7 separate regions of the Homo sapiens genome follow, and regions 1, 2, 3, 4, 5 and 6 are each linked to region 7. The links are contacts of gene promoters, found by promoter capture Hi-C in blood cells and fetal thymus (Javierre and others, 2016). All regions are on one chromosome and are shown on one strand. The core of a region is centred on a gene start or on the middle of the fragment in contact, and the rest is flanking DNA. Distances in the headings are between cores, read along the strand shown. Region 1 overlaps PIP5K1B (phosphatidylinositol-4-phosphate 5-kinase type 1 beta). Region 2 overlaps TMEM252-DT (TMEM252 divergent transcript). Region 3 overlaps TMEM252-DT (TMEM252 divergent transcript). Region 4 has its middle 12 kb from the start of PIP5K1B. Region 5 overlaps PIP5K1B (phosphatidylinositol-4-phosphate 5-kinase type 1 beta). Region 6 has its middle 31 kb from the start of PIP5K1B. Region 7 holds the start of FXN (frataxin).

Evidence for each region. The method cuts DNA at HindIII sites, captures the fragments that hold promoters and counts their contacts. A CHiCAGO score of 5 or more calls a contact.
Region 1: a contact is called between a fragment that was not itself captured here and the fragment with the promoter of FXN in region 7, in 2 of 17 cell types (erythroblasts and megakaryocytes). The highest score is 8.7, in erythroblasts.
Region 2: a contact is called between a fragment that was not itself captured here and the fragment with the promoter of FXN in region 7, in 4 of 17 cell types (non-activated CD4 T cells, M0 macrophages, total CD4 T cells and 1 more). The highest score is 7.1, in non-activated CD4 T cells.
Region 3: a fragment that was not itself captured here is called in contact with the fragment with the promoter of FXN in region 7 in 13 of 17 cell types (monocytes, naive B cells, total CD4 T cells and 10 more); the score reaches 9.5 in monocytes.
Region 4: a fragment that was not itself captured here is called in contact with the fragment with the promoter of FXN in region 7 in 3 of 17 cell types (megakaryocytes, erythroblasts and M1 macrophages); the score reaches 6.7 in megakaryocytes.
Region 5: a contact is called between a fragment that was not itself captured here and the fragment with the promoter of FXN in region 7, in 1 of 17 cell types (megakaryocytes). The highest score is 5.6, in megakaryocytes.
Region 6: a fragment that was not itself captured here is called in contact with the fragment with the promoter of FXN in region 7 in 1 of 17 cell types (monocytes); the score reaches 5.2 in monocytes.

Annotation. Positions count from the first base shown.
Region 1 is chr9:68,742,996-68,746,316 of GRCh38, reverse strand. The region is part of intron 2 of PIP5K1B (phosphatidylinositol-4-phosphate 5-kinase type 1 beta); the gene reads right to left. Among named protein-coding and RNA genes, the nearest start is that of PABIR1, 35 kb to the left of the region's middle. RefSeq lists a silencer at 2,094-2,288. The HindIII fragment of the contact is 583 bases long and covers 1,070-1,652 here.
Region 2 is chr9:68,612,640-68,616,454 of GRCh38, reverse strand. The region is part of intron 2 of TMEM252-DT (TMEM252 divergent transcript); the gene reads right to left. Among named protein-coding and RNA genes, the nearest start is that of LINC01506, 68 kb to the right of the region's middle. The HindIII fragment of the contact is 2,145 bases long and covers 991-3,135 here.
Region 3 is chr9:68,563,897-68,567,235 of GRCh38, reverse strand. All of the region lies in intron 2 of TMEM252-DT (TMEM252 divergent transcript), which reads right to left. Among named protein-coding and RNA genes, the nearest start is that of LINC01506, 19 kb to the right of the region's middle. The HindIII fragment of the contact is 4,987 bases long and covers 1-3,339 here.
Region 4 is chr9:68,691,790-68,695,150 of GRCh38, reverse strand. No RefSeq gene overlaps it. Among named protein-coding and RNA genes, the nearest start is that of PIP5K1B, 12 kb to the left of the region's middle. The HindIII fragment of the contact is 3,728 bases long and covers 1-3,361 here.
Region 5 is chr9:68,713,666-68,716,920 of GRCh38, reverse strand. The region is part of intron 1 of PIP5K1B (phosphatidylinositol-4-phosphate 5-kinase type 1 beta); the gene reads right to left. Among named protein-coding and RNA genes, the nearest start is that of PIP5K1B, 10 kb to the right of the region's middle. The HindIII fragment of the contact is 3,615 bases long and covers 1-3,194 here.
Region 6 is chr9:68,672,056-68,675,771 of GRCh38, reverse strand. No RefSeq gene overlaps it. Among named protein-coding and RNA genes, the nearest start is that of PIP5K1B, 31 kb to the left of the region's middle. The HindIII fragment of the contact is 7,734 bases long and covers 1-3,716 here.
Region 7 is chr9:69,034,209-69,037,502 of GRCh38, reverse strand. It overlaps FXN (frataxin), which reads right to left and starts at 1,751. Exons shown (of 5, transcript NM_000144.5): 1 at 1,556-1,751. The coding sequence starts at 1,720. RefSeq lists silencers at 516-810, 1,393-1,862 and an enhancer at 1,183-1,232. The HindIII fragment of the contact is 18,212 bases long and covers 1-3,294 here.

The DNA.
Region 1 (3,321 bases), core at 112-2,611, 290 kb after region 7:
ACTTGAGGCCAGAAGTTCAAGACCAGCCTGGCCAACATAGCAAAACCCAGTCTCTACTAAAAATACAAAAATTAGCCAGGCATGGTGATGCATGCCTGTAGTCCTAGCTACTCGGGAGGCTGAGGCACAAGAGTAGCATGAACCCGGGAGGTGGAGGTTGCAGTGAGCCGAGATCGCACCACTGCACTCCAGCCTGGGTGACAGAGCAAGACTATGTCTCAAAAAAAAAAAAAAAAAAAAGAGTTAACACAAAAGAAGAGAGACATGTGGGGAAAGAACAGCTTAAACAAAAGTAACTTTTTAATTCATGCTTTCATTCATTTATTCAACATATATTTAGTGAGCACTGGTTAGTTTCCGAATAAAACAGACATGAATTTTCCTTTATGGGGCTTACCATTTGATGTGAGAGTAAGACACTAAATAGCTTGTATAATTTATTTGGAAACGTTATCATTTATAATATAAGATGTACTGTGAGGGAAATAAAGGGAATTGCGGTAACAGAAAACAGAAAATTAGGGGAGATCTACTTAGGTGGGGTTTGAACAAAGAAGTCTTTACTAAGGAAGGAACATTAAGGAATCCTAAAGGAACAGAAGGAGCTGGCAACACAGAGTGGGAGCAGGCAGCAGAGAGGGAGCTTCCTGGATGGAAGATTCAGGTGGAGCACAGGCCCTTGGAGCAGGATGGAGGGCAGGAGAGGAAGAGGCTGGAGTGAAGTGGACATTCCTGTCTACTCCCAGGAGCCTTTTCTATGCTGTGTGTCATGTGCATCTCCAAGAGCTAAGGATAAGCCCTGCTTCCCAAGAAAGTATTACAGAATGTCAAAATGGGATGTGTCAAACAAGCCGCTAAGATGGATGAGATACCAGGTTCCAAAGTGAAGTGCCAGGCCTAGATGCAGTTTTTCAAAGAACATAGCCCAAAACCTTTTTCACTGGTCTTAAACCTCTTACCTACGGTGTGGCTACAAGTAGGTCAGACTGCTTGTTGGTGGCTAAAAGGAGAGAATGATTGAAGCAAGCAGGCTGCAGTCCAGTCTGGTCCTAGCCTAAAGGACTAAGCTTAGGAAGAGATAAGAGTACCTGCCCCTCCCTGCTTCTCCCCCTTCCAGCCTCATGAGGGGGCTCAACAGGACTACCTGGAGAGCATGAGGCTCTTACGATGTGGAAGGCACTGTGACCTTGTTTGGGACTTCTGCCTAAGAAATCTGAAGAACTGGAGAGCTGGCTGGATGCTGACGGACAAGCCAAAGGAAACGACAGTTGCCCTGGGAGCAGCCTGCCCTCTCCCAGTTGGTGGGAACAAAGGAAGTGTGAGTGTTTCCCATGGACCACACCATGAGCATATGTACAGGGCTATATATTAGGGTCTTCCCAACAAGGGCCACCTGGACAGCAATAGAACCCAGCAGACAGGAGTACGAATGGATTGGTGGGCTTTCTAGAGACTGTGGAAACAGTCTGCAATTAGGCTGAAGAGAGTGCAGCAGCCCCACCAAGGAAATTGGAGGTGAGAGGCCCCCAGAGACAAGGTGAGAGGGTATCTCCAAAGAACCCACAAAAGGGCCCCACAAGAGAAAGAATCAACTCTAAACACCCACAACACAAAAAGAGCTCTCCTATGATACCGCCTGCCTAGTAAAAGCTTTCCTACACTCCTTCCTGTTCCCCACCCAGCCCCTCACCCCAGTCCAGAAGTCATAGCTACTGAGTAAGCAAGAGAAAAAGCCTCCAACCACAGCCCCCTCTCCCTGCAACAGGCCCTAGCCAGGGGAAGGGGAGCAGTTATAAATATGAATGAAGCTGGAAGCTTTAACTATCCCATGATACTAGACATTTTAAATATCTGGCAAATTAAAGTGGGGCTTTTTATTATATATGAGGAATCAGAATAGCCACGTGATATGTTTTCATCCAAAAAACAGGGGAAATGCTTTCCACTGAATAAATTTTAATGGGAGAGTGGGAGACTTGATGAAGTTGTTTTTTCGTGGCCTCCCATGAAACCTATTTGTTCAAGGCAGATTATACATAGAACCCCATTGTGTTAGCACATCTCGTGGAAAATGTACTTTCCAAAAATGAGGCCCAGCATGCCCCAGCTTGAGGATGAAGATCACTGTGGTTTGTGGGTCCACCTTGTAACATTGTCCATCCTTGGCCAGGCCATGCAGAGCCTTCAGTATCTATGGCAACTGAGGCTACGGACCTCCTGCATACATCAGTGGTTCTCGTTCTTACACCTTCCTCCTTTTCCAGGAAGACAAATGTGTTTCAGGAAGGAATCCCTATCACCAAGAACCCCCACTAAGCTCAGCCCTGATCCTCCTGAAACAAGCTCTGATTGAGTTCCCAATATTGTGCTTTATGAGTCTTCTTCTTAGATGTCACCCTAACAGGATTCCCGGTACATTCATCTGGCACCCAGTTGAGAAGGCCAGAGCCTCAACCCATACTCAGCAGGAAACCCAAGGAGAATCAATAGAAGGACAGGGGCCTCTTTAACTCCACCCATTCAATCTCCCATTGTCTTAGTGTCATGAAAAGCAAATCTTAACATGCAGGGCAGTAAAACATGACACAGAACTCATCTTCAATAAACTGGCACTTTGGTTAAGCAAATGTGAAAAGTCAACAGCCACAGCATCCTTATATGCCAGTGGGTTTTGGCAAATCAACATACACTGACCAAGTCTTTCTGATATTGGAAATATTGCTTACCAAATCTACACCATGTGAAAGGGATTTCTCCTCACACATATGCAGTGTTCTTATGAAAGCTCATTCAAAACTGACATTAAAAGACATTTTGGGCCAAGCCTGCCTCGTGCCTGTAATCCCAACAGTTTGGGAGGCTGAGGCAGGATGATCACTTGAGCCCAGGAGTTTGAAACCAGACTGGGCACATAGCGAAACCCCAACTTTATACTGGAATAAAAAATTAGCCAGGCATGGTGGCATGGAAATGTAGTCCCAGCTACTCAGGAGGCTGAGGCAGGAGGATTGCTTGAGCCTGGAAGGTCAAGGCTGAAGTGAGCTATAGTTGTGCCACTCTAGCCTGGGAGACAGAGTGACAACCCTGTTTCGAAAAAAAAAAAAAAAAAGTTTTGGTATTTGGGCTATTTTAAAAATGCACAGCAGAGGATCTGAAGGTTTCTGGGCCTGCTCCCCACTAGGTTCTGAGCTCCTTGAAGCAGGGACTATGTTTCATCCACTTTTGTACCCTCCTAGGGCCTAGTACAAAATCTGGTACATATGTGCGTTCATTCAAAGTCTGACAGCTGATGAGTGAGTGAACAAATGAACATTCTGGCTC
Region 2 (3,815 bases), core at 814-3,313, 420 kb after region 7:
AAGTACATACCTAAATCCATAAATATTTATATATTTACACAAAGCCCTGGGCTCCAGACCTAGGTCAGCCAGTGGCAATTTCTGTGTCCTGAGTAAGTCCTTTCATCTCTCTGGGTCTCAGTTTCCCAATTCGCAAGCAGAAGGTTTGAACTCTCTGGCTATTGTACCACCATCACTATTATCAAGTGATGATATTAGATATCACTAATTCACTATCATCAAAACACAAACTTGTAAAATATCTTGAAAGTTTACAAACACATTCTTTTTATTTGCTTTTTTTTTTTTTTTTTTCAGACGGAGAGTATCGCTCTGTCACCCAGGCTGGAGTGCAGTGGCACAATCTTGGCTCCCTGCAACCTCCGCCTTCCAGGTTCCAGCAATTCCCCTGCCTCAGCCTCCCAAGTAGCTGGAATTACAGGCATGTGCCACCATGCCTGGCTAATTTTTGTATTTTTAGTAGAGACAGGGTTTCACCATGCTGGCCAGGCTGGTCTAGAACTCCTGACCTCAGGCGATCTGCCCGCCTCGGCCTCCCAAAGTGCTGGAATTGCAGGCATGAGGCACTGCTCCTGGCCCCAAACACATTCTTTTTCTTAGATAAAATACTAAAACAAACCAAAACATTTTAGATTACAAAAATGGAAGTACAAAGGCTTGGACATATTTATTGGCCTTTTTTTTTTCAATGAAGTGGTTTCAGTAGCCAGGCAAGCTTTGTATGAGCTACACTTTTCACTCTAAACAATGTGGATAAATATGACCTTGAGTGTTCTCATTTTCACATGCCCCATTTTTTCTCTCAGGACAGTTTTAATAGTGATTAAACCAGAATTTAGTGTCCAGATGAGCACACGGGGAATAATCTTTTCACTGAAGAGCCCCGTATGTCCATTGCGCACCTTAGAGGTCTTGTGTGGAACTAATGAAGCACTTTGATGGCTCAGGGATTTTCATTAGAGGGAATTCATCTCCACCTCACCTCAAGCTTCATGAGCCATTTCTCTAGCTGTGCTAAACTCCCAAACAAGTAGCAGCAGAGAGCATTTCCAAAAAAAGAGAGATATCAAAGTGGCAGCTACTCCAAAGACAGAGCCTCCCCTCCAGTTTCTGCCTCCTGCAGCTTCTCCTACCTTCTTCTCTGTTCTTTTCATGCACACCACCCACACAGTCCGTTGCAGATGGATACGTGGTTCCAGTGATTTAACCTTACTTTCTCCACTCAGGCCCCTCAGGCGTGATTTGTTCTTCGGAGTCAGAGCTCGCTTCCCCAGCACCAGTGGTGTGGCTGTGAGCAGGTTTTGTTAGCTGGGTATAATTTTTAAAGTACCATTTATTTATCTGGCAAGAGCAAGCCCCAGTGATCCACCTCCATTAAAAGTTCAATCCAGAAGAGTGAATCTGACAGCTCCAGATTTCCGGCCTCAGAGCTCTTGATTAATTTTTGTGCCCAGAGTCTGAGGCGAAAGCAAGGGCGGGATTTCCTGGGTGGCTGTTGGAGGTGCATTTGGAGGCCATTACTGCCCTTCCAGCTTCTTCACTCAATTATGCTGAGCTGAGGTTCGTCACACTTTGCATAAGCGAACTCGATGAATACTTAAAAAGCCTTATTCTCATTTTACACGTGAAGAAACTGAGGCACAGGGTGGTGAAGTGGCTTGCCGAAGTTTGCACAACTAGCAATTGGTGACGTCCGATTGGAGCTGAGGTCTGTGTTGCTCTAAAGCTCGAGTCTTTTCCACTTGGGTTGCGTCTCTCATCTCCTTGAGGGCACTGCCTGCTCTGTGTCGCCAGGACTGGGCTGGAGGTGGCCACTGGGGTTTCATGCAGAGGGTCAGAGATTTGCTGAGTGAATGTGGACTGTCCCTGCTTTGGCTGCAGAAATATCTTTCCTCATTCTTGATCGCCCTCAACTTTTTGAATCCCGGGTACAGGCTGAGAAGTGTCTACAGGTGACATGCAGAGTACACCAGGACAGAATTCCAGTCCAACTTGGTCACAAAATGCATGTGCTTTTATGCCAAGTTATTGGACATGTGTCTAGAGGCATAGAGTGACTTCGCTGCTCTTTAATTGTCTTTTTTGCTGTGCCTTCTGTTTTCATTCCTCCAGCTCTGTCTTCCTGCTTGTGGTGGAACCGAAAGTCTCAGTGTAACCCTGTTCCCTAGACAGGTCTGATATCTTCTTGGCCTTGACACTGAGAACTGGTTTAGAATCTGGTTTGTACTGTCCAACCTTCCAGTTTGGGAAGATAAGTCACAGGACATCGTCTTCTAAGCAGCAAGAGTAGCCCCTGGGATAAAATTGCTGACATCTCCGTGGGGCCTCAGGGTCCTGGGACTCATGCGAGTGCAGGAGGCTCCATGTCTTTGGAGGCTGCATCAGACACATTCTAGCCTCAACTGAATGAAACCTCTGAGTTTGATTTTACATAACTGCTCTTAATACTTACTTTAAAAGAAAAAAAAAAAAAGACCTGGCAAGGACTATAAATGTTTTATTTTAAAGTAACCTTTCTTGGATATATTTTTGGTGGGGGGAGGGCACAAATAGACTTCAAATATATTACATATTCATTGCAGAACATTTAGGAAAAAAAGAAAAGCAGAAACAAGAAAAATAAATATTTTCTATAATCCCAACAACATGAATAATATTTTAAAATATGCATAGGCTTTTATTCTTTATAGACCTATCTATATTCACTTTTCTTTATACAAATGGAAATATGTTGCATTTACTGTTGTGTTACCTGACGGTAGTCTAGTTAACAGCCAATTCTCTCCATTCTGGTTTGTGAGCCAACCCTGATTTTGTTGAGACATAGGACAGCCATGTGCTGTAGGGAAAGCTGGAACCTTCTCCAGCCTGAGGGAATGAAACTTAATTGGTCTAGGTCATTCTTAATCATTCCTTTCACCTTGTCAGTGATGGACTTGGGAGTAAGCATGTGACATTATTTTGGCCAAAGAGACATCAGGGAAGTCCTTAGGGAATGTCTGGGAAAAGTTTCTTTGCTCTTTAAAAAAAAATGACTTGTAGGAAGAAACTTCCGTTTTCAAGTCTGGGTATTGTCTGAATGTATCTGAAACAATGGCAGCCAATTTGCAAACATGGGGGATGGGGGAGCAAGCTTGATGAACAAGATCAGCTGATGAACAAGATCAGAACCAGGACTGCTATTCCTTTGTTAAACTTCTGAATTAACCGATGTTGCAACCATTCCCAAACTGGACATCTTGACAGATGGTAAAATAAATAGCTATATTGTTTATGCTGTTTAAATTTTTCTGTTACTTATAGCCAAAAGCAACTTATCTAACAGAATTTCTCTTGTCATTAGATATTCTTTTTTTTTCATAATAGAAAATATTTTATTTTGAAAGTTTTAGTCATTGGGTCTACAACAGTTTTCCATACAAGGAAAATACAGTATTAAGTTATTTGTAATTGTCTTACATACTGAACAACCAATGAATGCATACAAGTAACAAATTATATGTGTGCAGAGACTAGCATCAAGGAAATACTCATTCATAGATACATGTTTTCTAATAAAATATATTTTAAGTTTTTGATGATCTTCTGCTATCATTTTTGCTATGTTATCTGAATAGCCATCCAGATCTGTAGTAAAAGATCTCGTTAGCTACATAACTAAAGAAGTACTTCCCCAAGGAAGCTGACACCATCATACCAGGACTTACAACATTTAGCTTTTTTTTTTTTTGAGACAGGGTCTCACTCTGTTGCTAGGCTGGAGTGCAGTGGTGCGATCTTGGCTCACTGCAACCTCTGCCTCCCTGGTTCAAGCG
Region 3 (3,339 bases), core at 314-2,813, 470 kb after region 7:
AGATGCCAGGACCATGTCATGAGCCAGCTCAGGAACCCACCCTAAAATGGATGTGGGCCTATGTCAAGGAGGAAAGTTATTTTTTGGTGCTATCTCTCTAGTTTCTACCTCCACGTGCAATGGCAGAGCTTGGCTCTTCTGAGGTGTGGGGAATTATGGGAGGTGAGGTTGGGTGGAAGAGATGTCAGCAGCACTGTGAAAGAGGGGATCTGAGGATGGAAGATGGTGAGCTTCAGAAGGGAAGAGCAGCAGTGTTAGCCCAGCTGAGGAGGCAAAGGACAGCAAGGGCACACCTGCAGAAGCAGAAAAACATCAGCACCTCACACAGCACTTACGATGTACCAGAGACTTTTCCAGGCATTTTATAAGCATATTCAAACCTGTTAACCACCCTATGACACATTATTAGTACCCCCTTTTACAGATGGGGAAAATGAGGCATGGAGAAGTTAAATAACCTGCTCAATATCAGACAGCCAGTAAGTGACGGAGCCAGTAATTAAGCATTGGCAACTTGCCTCCCGAGGCTGGGGTCTTAACCAAATAATTTATTCTCTTCCATACACAATCATTCACCAGGGACAGCCCCAGAAATATTAATACATGGAAAGGCATTGAATAATACACAAATGAAGTTAGTGAATTAGGGCTTTTTAACACAGCAAGTTCTATGTGTATAAAGTATATGAGGCAAACAATAAAACCCCTTGTCAAATCTGAAAATTTCTAAATAACTTACTTTATGTTTAGGAGTACTGTTGTCTTACAGGCACTTCTGGCTGGAATATACATCTTTATATATCTAATGTTTCCATGTATCTATCTTTTTAAAAACACACTCAAGGGTCTACATGCATGTCTAACTGGTAAGGATTTTCTTTTTTAATAATCATCATCTGGCTGGAATTTTTAACTAAACCCATGTCAGTTGAGTGATATTATGTTTTTGTGAAAGCATTGTCGAGAGGATGTCTAGAATAGTTCATTATTAATGTTCCTCTGACAACATGCCACAAAGGATTTTAGAGAAAGACTTTTGATGCTCATTCTCTTAAAACCATTTTCTTTACCTACTATTCATATAAACACCCATCAAAAGCCTCATATTATTTCATTAACTGCAATCTTGTTACTCAATCTTTCAGTAACCAGTAATATAAGTCATGAGGCGACTTGCCTACTTGTTAGAACCAATTTTTTTTTTTTTTTGAGACGGAGTCTCGCTCTGTTGCCCAGGCTAGAGTGCAGTGGCGTGATCTCGGCTCACTGCAAGCTCCGCCCCCCGGGTTCAAGCGATTCGCCTGTCTCGGCCTCTCAAGTAGCTGGGACTACAGGTGCCTGCTACCACGCCCGGCTAATTATTGTATTTTTAGTAGAGATGGGGTTTTACCATATTGGCCAGAACTCCTGGTCTCGAACTCCTGACCTTGTCATCTGCCTGCCTCAGCCTCCCAAAGTGCTGGGATTACAGGTGTGAGCCATGGTGCCTGGCCAGAACCAAACTGAAATGTAATATCCCAGGTCGTAAGTTCAGACTTTACTTCCTCCTGTCGTTTCTGCACCCAGAGGTGATGGTCTGAAGAAGAAAGTCCTTTGGAAAAGTGAAAGTTAGCATAAGCATAGAACTTACTTCCACATCAACTGATTGGGTGGTCTATGTATGATAACGATGACAATGCCTGGCACCTGGTAAGCAATTATTTATTACGATTATTAAATCATCAAATGGCTATTATTATTATTCCTTTTGGGGTCAGTGCTCTCTACTTCGTGGCTGTAGAGATTTTTGTTTGTTTCGTTTACTGCAGAATTGCGAGTGCCTCTTAGAGTAGTACCTGTCACATAATAGGGACTGAATAAATATTTGTTGAATATTAGTTAACATAGCTTTACACCAACCTAATCTACTTATGCATGGGGCAATTTGTGGACAGCAGGGCTATCCTTACCTCATTTCCTTTCTTTGATCCCATTTAAGTTCAGGTCTGCCCAAGTCCTGACCTCTGACTATATCCAGTTTTCATCTGTGCTACTTCCTTTTGGACTTTCAAATTAATCCTGATTTCCTTGGTTTGACCATGGTACCCTATAACAAGTGACACTCTGTTCTTTTCCTGCCTGGTTACTTAAGGGAGGAAATCCTGCCCTACCTCTCACCTTGAGAACAAACTCTACCTCCAGCCTCACTGATTTTTTTCAAATATTTATCAACTACGTAGCAGGCAATCTGCTAGGCTCTGGGGACACAATGAAGAAGAAGAAAGGCAGGTTCCCTAGCCTTTGTGGGATTGGGCTGTAATTTGTTTTCTTAATATATTAATACCCAGAGGTGGGAAGGAACAAAGCCAGGTTCATCCAATGAACAGGTTGCAGAGCCATGAAGAGAGAGAATACGGCCACACTGATTAGGCACCCAGCCTGGCTTCCTGACAAATAGCCTCACCGAAGCAAGTGACCCCCTTACCACTACCCTCTCTCCTCTCTCTCTCCTCGCTTGTGTTCCAGCTGCACCCCTTTCCCATTCTGAATTGTCCAGGTTATGTGTCATGGACCATGATAGAATGACTCATCTTTTCAGAGGGCACCCATCTGCATCAGATTCCACATCTTGGGTTGCTATGTCTTGAGTTGCTAAAATAAGAATCAGAATGTTTCTTATTCTTTGCTCTCTGTGAGTCAAGCCTTGGCCACCAGAAAAGCCCTGGTTGCCCTAAAGAACTTGGAGTCAGCCGGTCACAGTGGCTCACACCTGTAATCCCAGCACTTTGGGAGGCCGAGGCAGGTGGATTACCGGAGGCCAAGAGTTCAAGACCAGCCTGGCCAACATGGTGAAACCCCGTCTCTACTAAAAATACAAAAAACATTAGCCAGGCATGGTGGCACATGCCTGTAATCCCAGCTACTCAGGAGGCTGAGGCATGAGAATTGCTTGAACCCAGGAGGCGGCAGTTGCAGTGAGCCAAGATTGCGCCACTGCACTCCAGCCTGGGTGACAGAGTGAGACTCTGTTTCAAAAAAAAAAGGAGAACTTGGAGTCAGTAGGGCAAAATTGTCCTTCTTTGACCTAGAAGGCTATTGTGTTTATGTTCCTCAGGATGCAAAGGGAAGATGAAAAAAGGAGCTAATGATCATTCTACATTTACTTGTGTCTACGGGCACCTTATGAAAATTACTTTTAGACAGATGCTATGTCTTTCCCCTAAACTAGTGGTTCTACAACATTACAGAATGCCCTGGAAGGCTTGCTAACATACAGATGGCTGGGACCAACTCCCAGACCATTTTTTTGGGTTTTTTTTTTTTTTTTTTTTTTTTTTTTTTTTTTTAGATGGAGTCTTG
Region 4 (3,361 bases), core at 480-2,979, 340 kb after region 7:
TCTCTACTCGGTTTAATTATGACATTAAGAACTTAATTCAATGTTTCTCAAAGATGTTTCAAAATTTGGCTAAGTGATAACACGATTATCTGAGAATTGACTATGGTAGGTAAGAGTACTGACCATGTTGCCTAGGTACCAAGAATAAAGAGGCCAAATTCTAGCCTCACCTTAAATTCTTCATAGAATTTACTTGAGGGGTGTTATTTAACATATTTTAAGAAGAGAACACATCTACTGATGGGAATCTGTCAGATGATCACTGGAAAGTTGGACAGACAACCACTGGGACTTCCTTTCCACATGGAGAATGTGTGGTTCTAGAACTCTGAGTTTGTAGGGATGTTCTGCTGTCTCCTATTAGCACTGTATCTCAAGTCTAGTCATGGTGATTATTTTGGATCTTGGACCAGGTGGTGAATAGAGGATGGTAAAGTCTAGTTCAGGACTGGGGCATACTGTGGGACAGAGGAGATAGAGAAGAGTGGAAAGGGAGAGTGGCTTTAAGACACACCCCAGGTATTCCAGTGATACATAATCACTTGAAAGAAATGCTTAACCTCAGCAGCAAACAAACAAACAAACAACAAAAAACCCAACGTGAAGCAGCTCTAAATTCCCATTGCATACTCCTTACAAGGGAAGAATAGACATTAGCGGCCTATTTACTATATACCGTGCCTTGTGCCGATGCTTTGCCTGCACTATCTCATTCAATCCTCAACCCTGAAAACTCATTATCCACATCCACAGATAAAGCAACTGAGACAGAGAGTCGAAGTAAGGTCCCTTAAATTACCAAGAGCAAAGTAATAATTCAAAATCCAGTGTTGACAAGGCTTTGGGAGGACAGATACACTAGGTAAATATTGGTATAATCTTCCTAGAGAACAACTAACAAGAGGCATACAATGATTAAACCTAGGTTCTAGTCATCCCATTTTAGAGAATATGCTCTAAAAACAAAAATATGTAATTAAAAAATGATTGTACAAAACTATTCATTGCACTGATATTTTTAAAATGCTATCAGGCAATAAATCTACTAGCCAATAATTGAAGACTGATTTTGTTATAAACTATCATTAAAAAGTGGTCTTATTTGGACTATATTGATGTGCCAAGAAAATTGTACATAAGACAATGTTAAGACAAAAAAGTAGAACCCAACAGATAGTATGTGAACAGCAAACCGAGTATATAAAATGCCATGTATAGTATTAATTTGTCAGATTCACATAGCTCACAAGTCAGTGCAGATATTTGTTAATTAGATTATTTTTCCCATGAACTTAAGTGCATAACAATGTATTGATTTTAAATTCCCACAAGTAATTCTGTACTCTCTAGCACTGGGATTCATTTGCAGGTTTGAAGAAAGGTATGAGAGAAAGGGGAAGAACTGTTAAACACACGCTGAAAGCAAAGAAGGGTTGCCCCGAAAATCTCTCTTGTGAGTTCCTGAAGACTTTTCCTCTGGGAAGCCACGAATTCTGTTGTGATGTCAATAATGCTCTCTGAGGGAAATTCCCTGAAGGGGAAATAGTGATGTCTCTGCCCTGCCCCTGAACCAATATTTATAGACACACCCATAAATATTGTTCAAGAAGAATTTGTGTTGAAAGCCCATGCCTGCAGAAAAGACTGAGTTGTCTCATCTGAACAAACCCCCAACGTAAGACTAAGGTATTATTCCCATTCTCAGCACTGATCTTGCAGGCCCCCATCCTGAGCCTTCCAACAAACTTTCCTCCTGCCTGCAATGCTCTGATATGCCCATTCTACACAGTTTTAAGACCCCTCTTAATTCCTCCCTGTTCCAGGAAGTCTTCACAGGAAGACATTACCACCTCCTGTAATTCCTATAGCACTTAGAATTCACTTGTTCTGCCAACATTTCATAGACACCTGTCTATCTCTCCGTGAAATGGCAGACTCCATGTGGTGAGAAGCCCTGTGTTTTTTAAATTGTTTTTGGAAACTTCATATTACATTAATACTTAACAGAGTGCTTTAAAATACAGCACAAAGTCTTCAAACAATTATTTGTGAAGTTGCTACCTGTTTCTTTCAAAAGAGATCTCTTTTGTCCATGGTTGCTTTAGTGACTGTTAGTGTTTCAAGCATGGATTTGGGAATCAAATATTCTCTCTCACCCTTTTCTTGCAACTTCAGGCAAGTTTCTCAACTTCCTGGAGACCATTTTCTCATTCATTAAGTAGAGATACAAAATATTTCACAGAACTCTAGTAAGGATTAAAACTAGTCATTCTTCACGTGTCAGCTTAAACATTACTTTGTTCAGGATCCCTTTCTTGACACCTCTCCTCACCTCCAAGTTTAAATGAGAAATGTCTCTCTGTGCTTCCAAACACTCTAAACCAGTGCCATCCAACAGAACGTTCAGCAAGAATATTGTTCCATAATCTGTGCTATTTATAGGTAGCCACGAGCCACATGTGCACTTGAAATGTGGTTAATGTGACCGAGGGACTGATGTGTAAGTATTATTTAATTTTAATTGCTTTTAAATAGTCCCATGTGGCTGGTGATGCCCGGACTGGACCGCACAACTCTAAACAATTCCCATTATAGCGCTTGGTTCACGGTTGATTCTCTCCTACAAGATTGAGGTCTGTGATGAAATTCACCTGGACTATGATGCTCCCCATTATATCCATAGCACCTGGGTCAGGGGCTGTTGCACAGTAAGCTCTCAGCACACCAGTTATCATCATCTTCAATGTCATGTTGCCCAACTTTGTATCCCACGGTTTAGCCCAGCACACACTGTAGATGGTTCATCATTGTTTGCTAATTGAGTTAATTGATTTCTAGACTTACAAACAAACCAATAATCTGTTCCTGGACAATATTCAACCAAAGGGGGTTGCATAAATGTCTTTCTACATTACACATTGTATACAGGTATCAAAATATCACACTGTACCGCATAAATGTGTATAATTACTGTGTGTTCATTAAAAACAATTTTAAAATGTCTTTTAAATAATTTCTCTGTGTGCGGCATAGTGGTTAGAAGCCTCTGCCTGGATTCCAACGCTAGCTCCTCCACTTTCCAGCTACATGACCTCTAGTACATAATTTTTTGTGCCTTAGTTTATTAGTCTGTAAAGTGGGGACATGAATGGTCCTGCCTTATTGAGTTGTTTTAAAGATTATGTGTATTGAGGCTTATGACCACCATTTTACAGGCAATAGAGAGAACAAAGGGCTGCAATGAATTACCCTATTAACATTCAAGCTGCAAAATCCAGATTGTAGGGAATGATAGTCAGGAAACTGAGACAGCCACGCTGTGGGCTTTAGGTAGCAAATCTAAGGGCCAAGACACAACTCT
Region 5 (3,255 bases), core at 138-2,637, 320 kb after region 7:
GTTCTTTCTTATGGCTGCATAATATTCCATGGTGTATATATACCACATTTTCTTCATCCAATCCATCATTGATGGTCACCTAGGTTGATTCCTTGTCTTTGCTATTATGAATAGCGCTGCAATGAACGTGTGAGTGCAGGTGTCTTTCTGATAAAACAATTTATTTTCCTTTGGGTATATATCCAGTAATGGGATTGCTGGGTTGAATGATAATTCTATTTTCAGTTCTTTGAGAAATCTCCAAGATTTCTCACTGTTTTCCACAGTGGCTGAACAAATTTGCAAACCAAGCAATCGTGCATAAGCGCTCCCTTTTCTCTGAACCTTGCCAGCCTATGTTATTTTTTGACTTTCTAATCATAGCCATTCTGACTGGTATGAGATGGTATCTCATTGTGGTTTTGATTTGCACTTCTCTGGTGATTAGTGATGATAAGCATTTTTTCATGTTTCTTGGGCACTTCTATGTCTTCAAGGAGAATGCTTTAGCCTCCAACTAACTTCTTCCTTAACAACTGCTTCCCTCTTAAATAATTAGGTTCTATTAGCTTTTATATTTAGAATAAATGTTATATTCTGTGATGGGAGAGATCAGACAAACCTATTTAAGTCAAGTTATATGTTATGGCATCCCTTTTAAGTTGAAGCCATATAGTTCTCCATAGATGTGCAGAGCAAGTCAGATGTAACTGGCTGTATCCTTGAAGACAGGAATTCTTTTCAGGACAACCCCCTTTCAACTGCATGTCCATATTCTTTCCTCTAAATAATCATTCCCATTCCTTCACATCTCTTGCTCTGCTTTCCTTCCTTTTACTTTTACAATTCTAATTTTTAAAATAAGTAATCCACACATATGGGTCCAAATTCAGAGGTACAAATAAATATGGGATGAAAATTCCCCTCCCATCCATGCCCCTCAGCTAGCCAATTCACCTCCCCAGAGGCAAACAAAGACACTAGTATCTCAGGTATTCTTCCAGAAATATTTTATATCATGCCTTTGGGGCAACCTTCCTTGGGGATAATACCTGCAGCTACCATTATAGAAATGCGGCTCATGACAGGTGAAATTAGGCAGTGGTAATGAAAGTTGAAGATCAAGTTCATGGACAGGATCGGCAATATGAAGTGGTTCATTCATGATCTCTGTGCATTTCCTTTCTTTAGTGGGAATTTACGAAAAGGATTTTTTTAAGGTAGAAGTATTGGTATTCATTTACTTATTCACTCAAGACAATTCTACATGTGCCGACACTATGGGGATGCAATGGGCCCTGATGATTAGCAGCTGGTGGGGGCGAGGAAACTAGTCAAATAATCATACTGTTGAAGCCCTCCTGGAGAGGGAACCACTGGTCCTGTCCTAGACTGGGGATGGGTGGCCAAGGCCTCCTTTCAAAAGTAACCTTAGAATTGACCTGAAGCGTGGTCGACCGATGCTGAGAACATTCCAAAGGGGGCAACGAGAGTGCTGCACAGAGGGTGTGAAGCTGGCAGTTGCAAGTGTGGCTCAGAAACAGCAAGGGGCAGAGTGGTGGATCTGAGACTGGAGTGGCAGCAGGACCAGGACCGTGCAGGGCTCTGGAACCATGTCAATGACCCACATCTTCACTCCAGGCACAAAGGGAGGCCATTGAAGAGTCTGGGGCAGATCCCTGTGCTTCTCTCTGTCCAGCACCCCCAGCCCCAGGCCCCACTCCTTGGTCAGGAAGTTTTTCCTGCACCCATGTCAACTGGTTCCTGTTATGAGGAAATACAGAGAGAATGATTTTGAGTCATGTTTCTTTATCTATCCTGCCAGTTATGCAAAGCAACCCAGGCCTTTTCCTCAAAGCTGCCAGGATAAGCCACAGTCAACAGTCAGAGACAGGTGCCTTTTGGGAGAGGCTTAGATTTTATTCCTAGACCACAGGTGGTGAATTTCTCTGCTATGGTGGCCACAAATGTGATATTGCAGGGTCCTGGGGGAACTCAGGGGCAGAGTATAAGCAACTGTGGAAGTAGAGCAGTCTTTGGTTCTTTGTTGGAGTGAGTGGAGTGCACCTTGGGAACTGCCGGAGAACTCTTAAGAACTTGGTATTTGCGGTAGGGTTGGGCAAGTCCCTAGAGCTACACTGGAGTTTCCATCCTGTTCCTTTAAAAGTAGTTGACTGTAGTTATGAACCTGCCTCTGACTGGACTCCAGGAGAGCAAAAACATCAGGGTAGAAAGCTACTTGGAAAAACAAGTCCTCAGAGGCTGTCCAAGAGCTCAAAAGGCCACTGAGGTGGAGAGCCCTGGGGTCAGAATTTGTGTGCTTCCGTGAGGGTTTGGCAGGGTACAGGAAGCAGAGATCTGGCCAGCAGAGCCTCAGGTGCCCTCCAACCATCACAAGTGCCCTGGTTACAATATGGGTAATGGATTCTAGGAGACCCAGAGTGGACTCAGGATACCAGAGAGGTTCTGGCTCAGTCCTGCAGAGAGACAAGAAGTTGGGCTAGGATAGAATCCGCACAAATGATGAGAAGCAGATGGAATGGGAAAGATATTCAGGAAGCAAAATCAATAGACATTGGTGATGGATTAGATGTGGTGTGTGCAGAGGGTGGAGCCAAGGATGGCTCCCAAGTTTCTGATCGTGCTACTTGGTGACTAGCGGTGCCCACCACAGAGCTGGGAACCTTGCAGGAGTATCAGATGTGGAGAAAACAGATCATGATTCTGGTTTTGAACATGTAGAATTTGAGGTGCCTTTGGGATATCCAAGCGCAATGTCAATTATGCAAACTAGAGTTCAGAGAAAGACTTAGTTTGGAGATATAAATTTTAGATTCGCTTATGTTCTCCTTTTTAAAACTCTTATTTCAAAACTGTACTTTGAGGTGCTACACCATGAAACAGAGAAAAAGAGTATGGGCTTCATAGTCAGAAAAGCCAGGGCTAGAACCTTTGTGCCATCCCTTACTGGTTCTGTGCTCTGGTACAAGTTACTACTAACCTGACTAGGTTTCCCTTTCCTTCTCTTCAGTGAAGAAATGCTGCAGCTTGGAAGCACATGGTGATGAAAAGAAACAGCACTTGAGGAGTGCCTGGAACAGAGTAAGCTCTCAGCACAGTCAGCCTCCTTGACAGCCAGGACCATGTTTATATTAACACTTTCTGTATACCCCATAATACCCATCACTTGGCAGGCTCTGTGACTACCAAAAGCTTTTTTATATTGTATCTAAAGTCCTAGATACCCAATCTATTCACAATACTTTGCTCTCCTGT
Region 6 (3,716 bases), core at 72-2,571, 360 kb after region 7:
GGAAGAGCTGTTAGAACATGACATGCTATTCTGGTTCCCTCCTGTGAATTCCTGCTATGCTAGAGGGAGGGGAAGAGGTTTTACATTGTGTTCCGAAGACATCTACTTTAAGGAGCTATTTTTCTGAAAAGGAAAGATGATAGCTTCAGTAATACCTGGCAGGCATCTGCAGAGCTCACAGCCATTTTTACCTTATCAGATTTGTCCTTCAACTCCTTGGAGAGAAAAATGAGTGAGCAGAAGAAGCATTCTGTCAATTTTAGAAAATAAGGCTCTCTAGCATTTCTGCCTGATCTCTCACTTTTCTGCTCAGCCCATCCTCATCTCCAGCTCCCTGCGCTGCTTTGACATCCCTGTTTGCGCTCTGGGACTACATGCCTCTGCACCTCCATCTCCAAGTATGAACATCCATTCCTCTGTCAGCCAAGACTTGACTTAAATTCCAGGTCCTTTTTGAATTGGGGTGGCTGGAGGCTCTTTCTCTAGCTACTGAATAGCATTGCCACGTACCAGATATGGCCTGGGAAGACATCTGAACACATACATATGTTCCCAACCAGGTGTTGGGCACTTAGAGCAGGAGTCAGCAAGCTATGGCCTGGGTGCCCAATCTAACCTACTCCCGATTTTTGTAAATGAATACAAAACTCATTTGGATGAATGAACATCTATTAGTATATAGCCACACCTATTTGTTTACATCTATAGCTGCTTTCATGCTTCAGCGGCACATTTGGGTACTTGTCTGCACACCTAAATTATGTACTTTCTGGTCTTTTAAACAATTTTGCTAATCCCTGACATAGAGGAAAGTGACCATGCCCAATCTAGCATCTGATACAATGAAAACACTCTGAAAATTCTTATGGAGGAAAGGGAGAAAAAAAAGAAGGAAGGAAGGAGGCTCAAGGAGATAAAATGAAATTACCCTCAAATCACATTTTGCACAATGAAATATTAGAACAGGATTCAAATCAGAATACACTCAGGACTGGCTATTTCCAGTAAGCAGGCAGGTGGAGGAGGAAGAATTAAAGGGATTGGAATAAAAGTGATTGTTCTAGTTCACTATTGCTGAGTTATCAACTACTCGGAAATGTAACAACCATTTTATTGTATCTCATGATTTTTGGGGTTAGACATTTGGTGGACAGGGTTTGATTGGGTGATCCTTCAGTCCCATGTAGTGTCAATGGAGATGACTTGGTGGTATTCAGCTGGCAGACAGGCTGGTTTTAAAGGTCCAGTTCAGCTGTACTATATGCCCGGTGCCTTGGTGGGTACGGTCGTAAGGCTGGGCTCAGCTGTGGCGTCTGGCTTCAGGATGGTCAGACTTCTTACATGAAGGTTCAGGGCTCCAGGAACAAGCAGTTCAACAAACAGGCAAAAGCTACATCACCTTTTTATGATCTAACTCCAGAAGTCACAAAAAGACACTTCCACCCTACTCTGCTGGTTGAAGTAGTCATGAGCCTGCTTAGATTCAAGGGGAGGGAACATAACCCCCAACTCTTAATGAGGAAAGATCAAATAATTTGTGGCCATGCTTAAACCACCCCAGGGGAAAGAAGATGGAATTGTTGGGGGCAAGTAACCAACATTTACTAAAGGTTTTAGTAGTTATTTCACTACAACCTTCTGAAAAAAGTATTATTCCCATTTGACAGCTTAAAAAATACATTTAAGATTAAATGACTTAATTAACTTACACAAAATGACTGAGCTGGTGAGTTACAGAGCTGTGATTTCAACTCAGGCATAACTCCAACTCTGGAACTTTTTCTATTATATCATGATGTCTGTCACAGAGAAATGAAGAAGAGTCAAGCATGGCAGACAGGGCAGTGATAAGGTTAAAAGGAAAAGCCCATGTCTTTGCCTTCCAGATCTTGGGAAATAATTGTTGGTGGCAGCAGGTGCCTGAGTGTCTTTCTGCAAAGACAGAATGCCCTGGTATAACAACAATAACAACACTTGCTGAAACCCCAGTCTGGAAAGTGCCAGACTGATCGCTTCTCCAATTCCTAGTCAGCTATGCCAGGCAGTCTCTGACCAGAGTCACCACACCTTTGACCACTCAAAAGGGTGATGCTGATAAACTACTCAACTATCTCCTATGCAGTAGGTGACTCTCACATCTTTGTCTTCAAACAGATCCTCTCACACGGGCAAGCTCCAGGCCCCAACTTCAAACTCCCTATAGGCCACATCCACTTCGATGTTCCCGAAGCTCAGACTCAACATGTCAGGACACACAGCATCATTTTCTCTTAGCACACTTCTGCTCCTCCTGCCCTCCTTGGTCTCCAGACCTGTGAATCCTCACCGATTGCTCCCTAACCTCCTCCTGAGGGGCAAGACAATATAGTCTGGTAGATTAGCACATGGGCTTTGGTACTGTGCTGCCTGGGTTTGAGTTCCTGTTGGCCTTAGTTATATGACTTCAGGCAAGTTATTCTATCTCGTTGAGTGTCTGTTTGAGATGATAGACTCTGAGATGGCAACAATAATAGTACCTCCTCAGAGCATTTTTAGAACTGAGCTAATATTTTGAAGTGTTTAAAATAGCTTGTGGCACATACTAGGCACGCAGTAAACATTAGCTATCATAATGCTCAATTAGTTTCCAAGTTCTAGTAGTTTTTTTTTTATATATTTAGGGTTGTTTTTCTTACTACCTTGACTATCTTAGCCCAACTCCTCATGACCTTATCCCCATGTAGTTGTGATTACTTTACAAGAGGGGAGACTCATGCCCTCACTTCTTCTCCATCAATCTGTGCTGCACATAGCTAGCTGAAAAATCTTCTCCATTTATTGGCTTCCTGTGTACTAGGCAATACACCAAGCATTTTAGAGATATTATCTATAACCTTTGCAACACCTCACTAAGCTGAGGACTCTATTATTCCTCCTATGACAGATAAGGACACTGGCCTCAGAGAAAATAACTTGTCCAAGGTCACACAGCTAGTAAGTGGCAGAGTCAAGATAAGAAACTTGTTGATGTTCTCTTATCACTCCATACTTCACTCTTCTATGACATCAGACTTCAATATTCAATATATCATCTCCCTGCTTAGGAACTTAAGTAAATAAATAAATAAGCAAATAAATCAATGACTTCAGGGAAGGAGAGCTAGAAACCTTCAAAAGTTTTTTATTATATATAGGATTTCATTTACCCTAATATTTAAGCACAGGACAATTTAGCCCCAAATTAATTTTCTAATTTAGGGCCTAATTTCTAACTGGGACTTCTCAGCCCAAACTCTCTATTCTAGTCTGTCTGACCTACTCATCACTCTACCACAGACCACAGTGCATTCCTGTCTCTGAGTCTTGGTGACATTCACCTAGCTGGATTGCTCTTCCCGCACTACTGCACATCCATCTAGCCAAATTATACCCAGGTCACACCTCAAACCCCACTTCCTCCATGGGCCAAAATAACAGATGCTGGTGAGGGTGTGTGGAAAAAAGAACTCTCATACATTGTTGATAGGAATGTAAATTAGTACAACCATTACAGAGAACCATATAGAGATTTCTCAAAAAAAAAAAAAAAAAAAAACCCTGAAAATAGAACTACCGTATGATTCAGCAATCCCACTACTGAGTATTTATGCAAAGGAAAAGAAATCAGTGTACCAAAGGGATACATGCACTCCCATGTTTATTCACAATAGCAAAGATATGGAATCAACTTGTATCCA
Region 7 (3,294 bases), core at 502-3,001:
ATTTTATTTTTTATTTTTATTTATTATTATTATTTTTTGAGACGGAGTCTTGCTCTGTCGCCCAGGCCGGAGTGCATTGGGCGATCTTGGCTTAATGCAACCTCTGCCTCCCGGGCTCAAGCGATTCTCCTGCCGCAGCCTCTGGAGTAGCTGGGATTACAGGCGCGCGACACCACGCCCGGCTAACTTTTCTTTATTTTCTTCTTCTTCTTCTTCTTTTTTTTTTTTTTTTGTATTTTTTAGTAGATACTGGGTTTCACCATGTTGGCCAGGTTAGTCTTGAACTCCGGACCTCAGGTGATCCACCTTCCTAGGCCTCCCAAAGTGCTGAGATTATGGGCATGAGCCACCGCGTCCTGCCAGGAAATCCATTTTCTAAGTCCTAACTTTTAAGCACTGGCAACCAATCCCAAAGTTTCTTCAAACACAATGTGGGCCAAATAACACGTGTGGGAAGTTCAAGCCTAAAGTACAAACTCCGGAGAGCAACACAAATATGGCTTGGACGTGGCCTGCCTCTTTCATCTCCCCTAATACATGCGGCGTACCAGCCACTCTGAAGGGATCCCCTTCCGCCTTCCTGGCCTTTGCCCAGACGGTTCCCTCCTCGTGAAACACCCTCTACCACTTCCTTGGCATCTTCAAGACCCTCATTAAATACCATGTCCTCCCCTTGAGGAATCTTCCTCATCCCCACAGCCATTCTTTGGGTTTCCTCCTTTCAAGCCGTGGCGTAACTGGGTCAGATATTTCTTTGTACCCCCCAAAGGAAGAAAGGGGAACTAATTTGAAGTTCTGAAGACTTTATCTATGTTATTCCCATTTAATCCTCACACCAGGTCCGCAAAATGGGCGTCACCTTTATCTTCTCCCTACAGAAAACAAAGCCACGTCTCAGAGAGGTTAGGGGAATCCCCCAAGGTCACACAGCTCTGCGGAGTGGGGCAGAATCTGGAATAAAGGTCGGGTCAGTTTCCAAAAGCCAGGGCCCCTGCTGCTCTAGCTATTCTGCAGCTCTGAAAGTTTCACCTCGTTCCAGGAAAGCATTTCGTTCAAAAAAATCCAGCCTTGAAAATATTAGGTGTGCGCGCGCCCGTGCGCGCAAACACACACACACAACACACACGCTATATACAGATACACACAGACACACACATTATGTGTATGTATATACTAGCAGATACCATCTATTAATATTACTGAAACAAGTTATCGCAGAGAAGTGACAAGCATGGAGACAGCCGCACACCCCTCGGAACCGGTCCCCTCCACCAGCCTGCCCTGCCTTCGCCCGTGCCTTGACCCGCAGTCGCACCGCAGGACAAAATGTCCCCTTTTCCTTCGGAAAGCAGAAGCCAGTGTAAATGCAACCGGGAGAACCAGAGAAGGGAGTTGCAAGGCCGCTTCCGCCGGGCCGCCCTGAGAAGGAGCGGGGTGAGCTAGTCCAGCGCGCGTACCCGGAGCGACCCCGGCGTGCGCGGCGCCTCCCTGCGCAGGCGTGCGGCGTGCGGCCCGCGGCGTGCGGCCCGCGGCTGTTCCCGGCGCGGATACTTACTGCGCGGCGGGGCGTGCAGGTCGCATCGATGTCGGTGCGCAGGCCACGGCGGCCGCAGAGTGGGGCCAACTCTGCCGGCCGCGGGACCCGGGTGAGGGTCTGGGCCTGGGCTGGGCTGGGTGACGCCAGGAGGCCGGCTACTGCGCGGCGCCCGAGAGTCCACATGCTGCTCCGGGTCTGCCGCCCGCTCCGCCCTCCAGCGCTGGGTGCTGCGGCGACCCCTGGTGGCCACTGGCCGCAGGCACTCTTCTGTGGGGGAGCAGCTAGAGGTTAGACCTCAGGAAGAACTTCCCAGCTTAGCACTATTCGTGCATTTAACAAAAATGGAGAGCCTGCTTTGTGCAAAGCACGGAGTGCAACCAGGACCCCTGACCCAAGGGAGACTGCAGCCTGGTGGCCCGCCGCTTCTAAAATTCTAAACAGGAGGAACTTGGGAGCTGCTGTCTTGCTGGGAAGTGGGTGCATGCACAAATTGAGGCTGCTTGGCCGCCGGTATGGGTTTACAGCAGTTGGGTATGTGGGGCCAGGAGACGGATGCCTTGTGTAAATCTGTACTCTGCCCACTTCCTAGCTGTGTGACCAGAGGGCAAGTTAATTAACCTCTCTGTGCCTTGTTTATAAAATGCGTTTTATAAAAGTTCCTACTTCATAGGATTGTGGTAAGGATAAAATGAGTTAAGCCCTGTAAAGTTTTTTTTGGACAGGGCATGTTCCTGTTAAGTGCACAATAAATATTGTTAATAGATTTTATTGATTGATTGATTGATTGAGACGGAGTCTCGCTCTGTCGCCCAGGCTGGAGGGCAGTGGTGCGATCTCGGCTCACTGCAAGCTCTGCCTCCCGGTTTCACGCCATTCTCCTGCCTCAGCCTCCCGAGTAACTGGGACTACAGGCGCCCGCCACCATGCCTGGCTAATTTTTTGTATTTTTTTTTTTTTTTAGTAGAGACGGGTTTCACCGTGTTAGCCAGGATGGTCTCGATCTACTGACCTCGTGATCCACCCGCCTCATTTATTTGTTTGTTTGAGACAGAGTCTCACTCTGTTGCCCAGGCTGGAGTGCAGTGGTGTGGTCCTGGCTTACTGCAACTTCTCCCTCCCGGGCTCAAGCAGTCTTCCCATTTCAGCCTTCCAAGTAGCTGGGACTACAGGTGTGCACCACCACACCCAGCTAGTTTTTGTATTTTTTGTAGAAAGGGGGTTTCGCTATGTTGCCCAGGGTGGTCTTGAACTTCTAGGCTCAAACGATCTGCCCGCCTGGGCCTCACAAAGTGCTGAGACGACAGGCGTGAGCCACCGTGCCTTGCCTATTGTTGATAGATTTTAAAAGAGAATTTTATTTCTGTTACATATTACAAAGGGATGCAAATTGTGAAAGTTTTCTTCACATTTTATATATGCTTTAGAGGATGTCAAATGTGAGCCGAGTGTGGTAGTGCATGCCTGTGATCTCAGCTACTCAGGAGGCTGAGGCGGGAGGATCACTTGAGCCTGGGAGCTCAAGGCTGCAGTGAGCTATGATTGTGCCTGTGAATAGCCACAGCATTCCAGCCCGGCCATCATAGCAAGATACTGTCTTAAAAAAAAAGAAAATGTCAGTTGTGTACACTTTCCATGGCAGAGAAGATGGGAAGGTACTAAAGTTCTTCCAAAGCCACTTTGTGAATCGTGAAGAGAGACATGTTTACATACTTAGGATGCTAAATGACAAGTGTCAAGAGGAATGTAAACTAACAGGT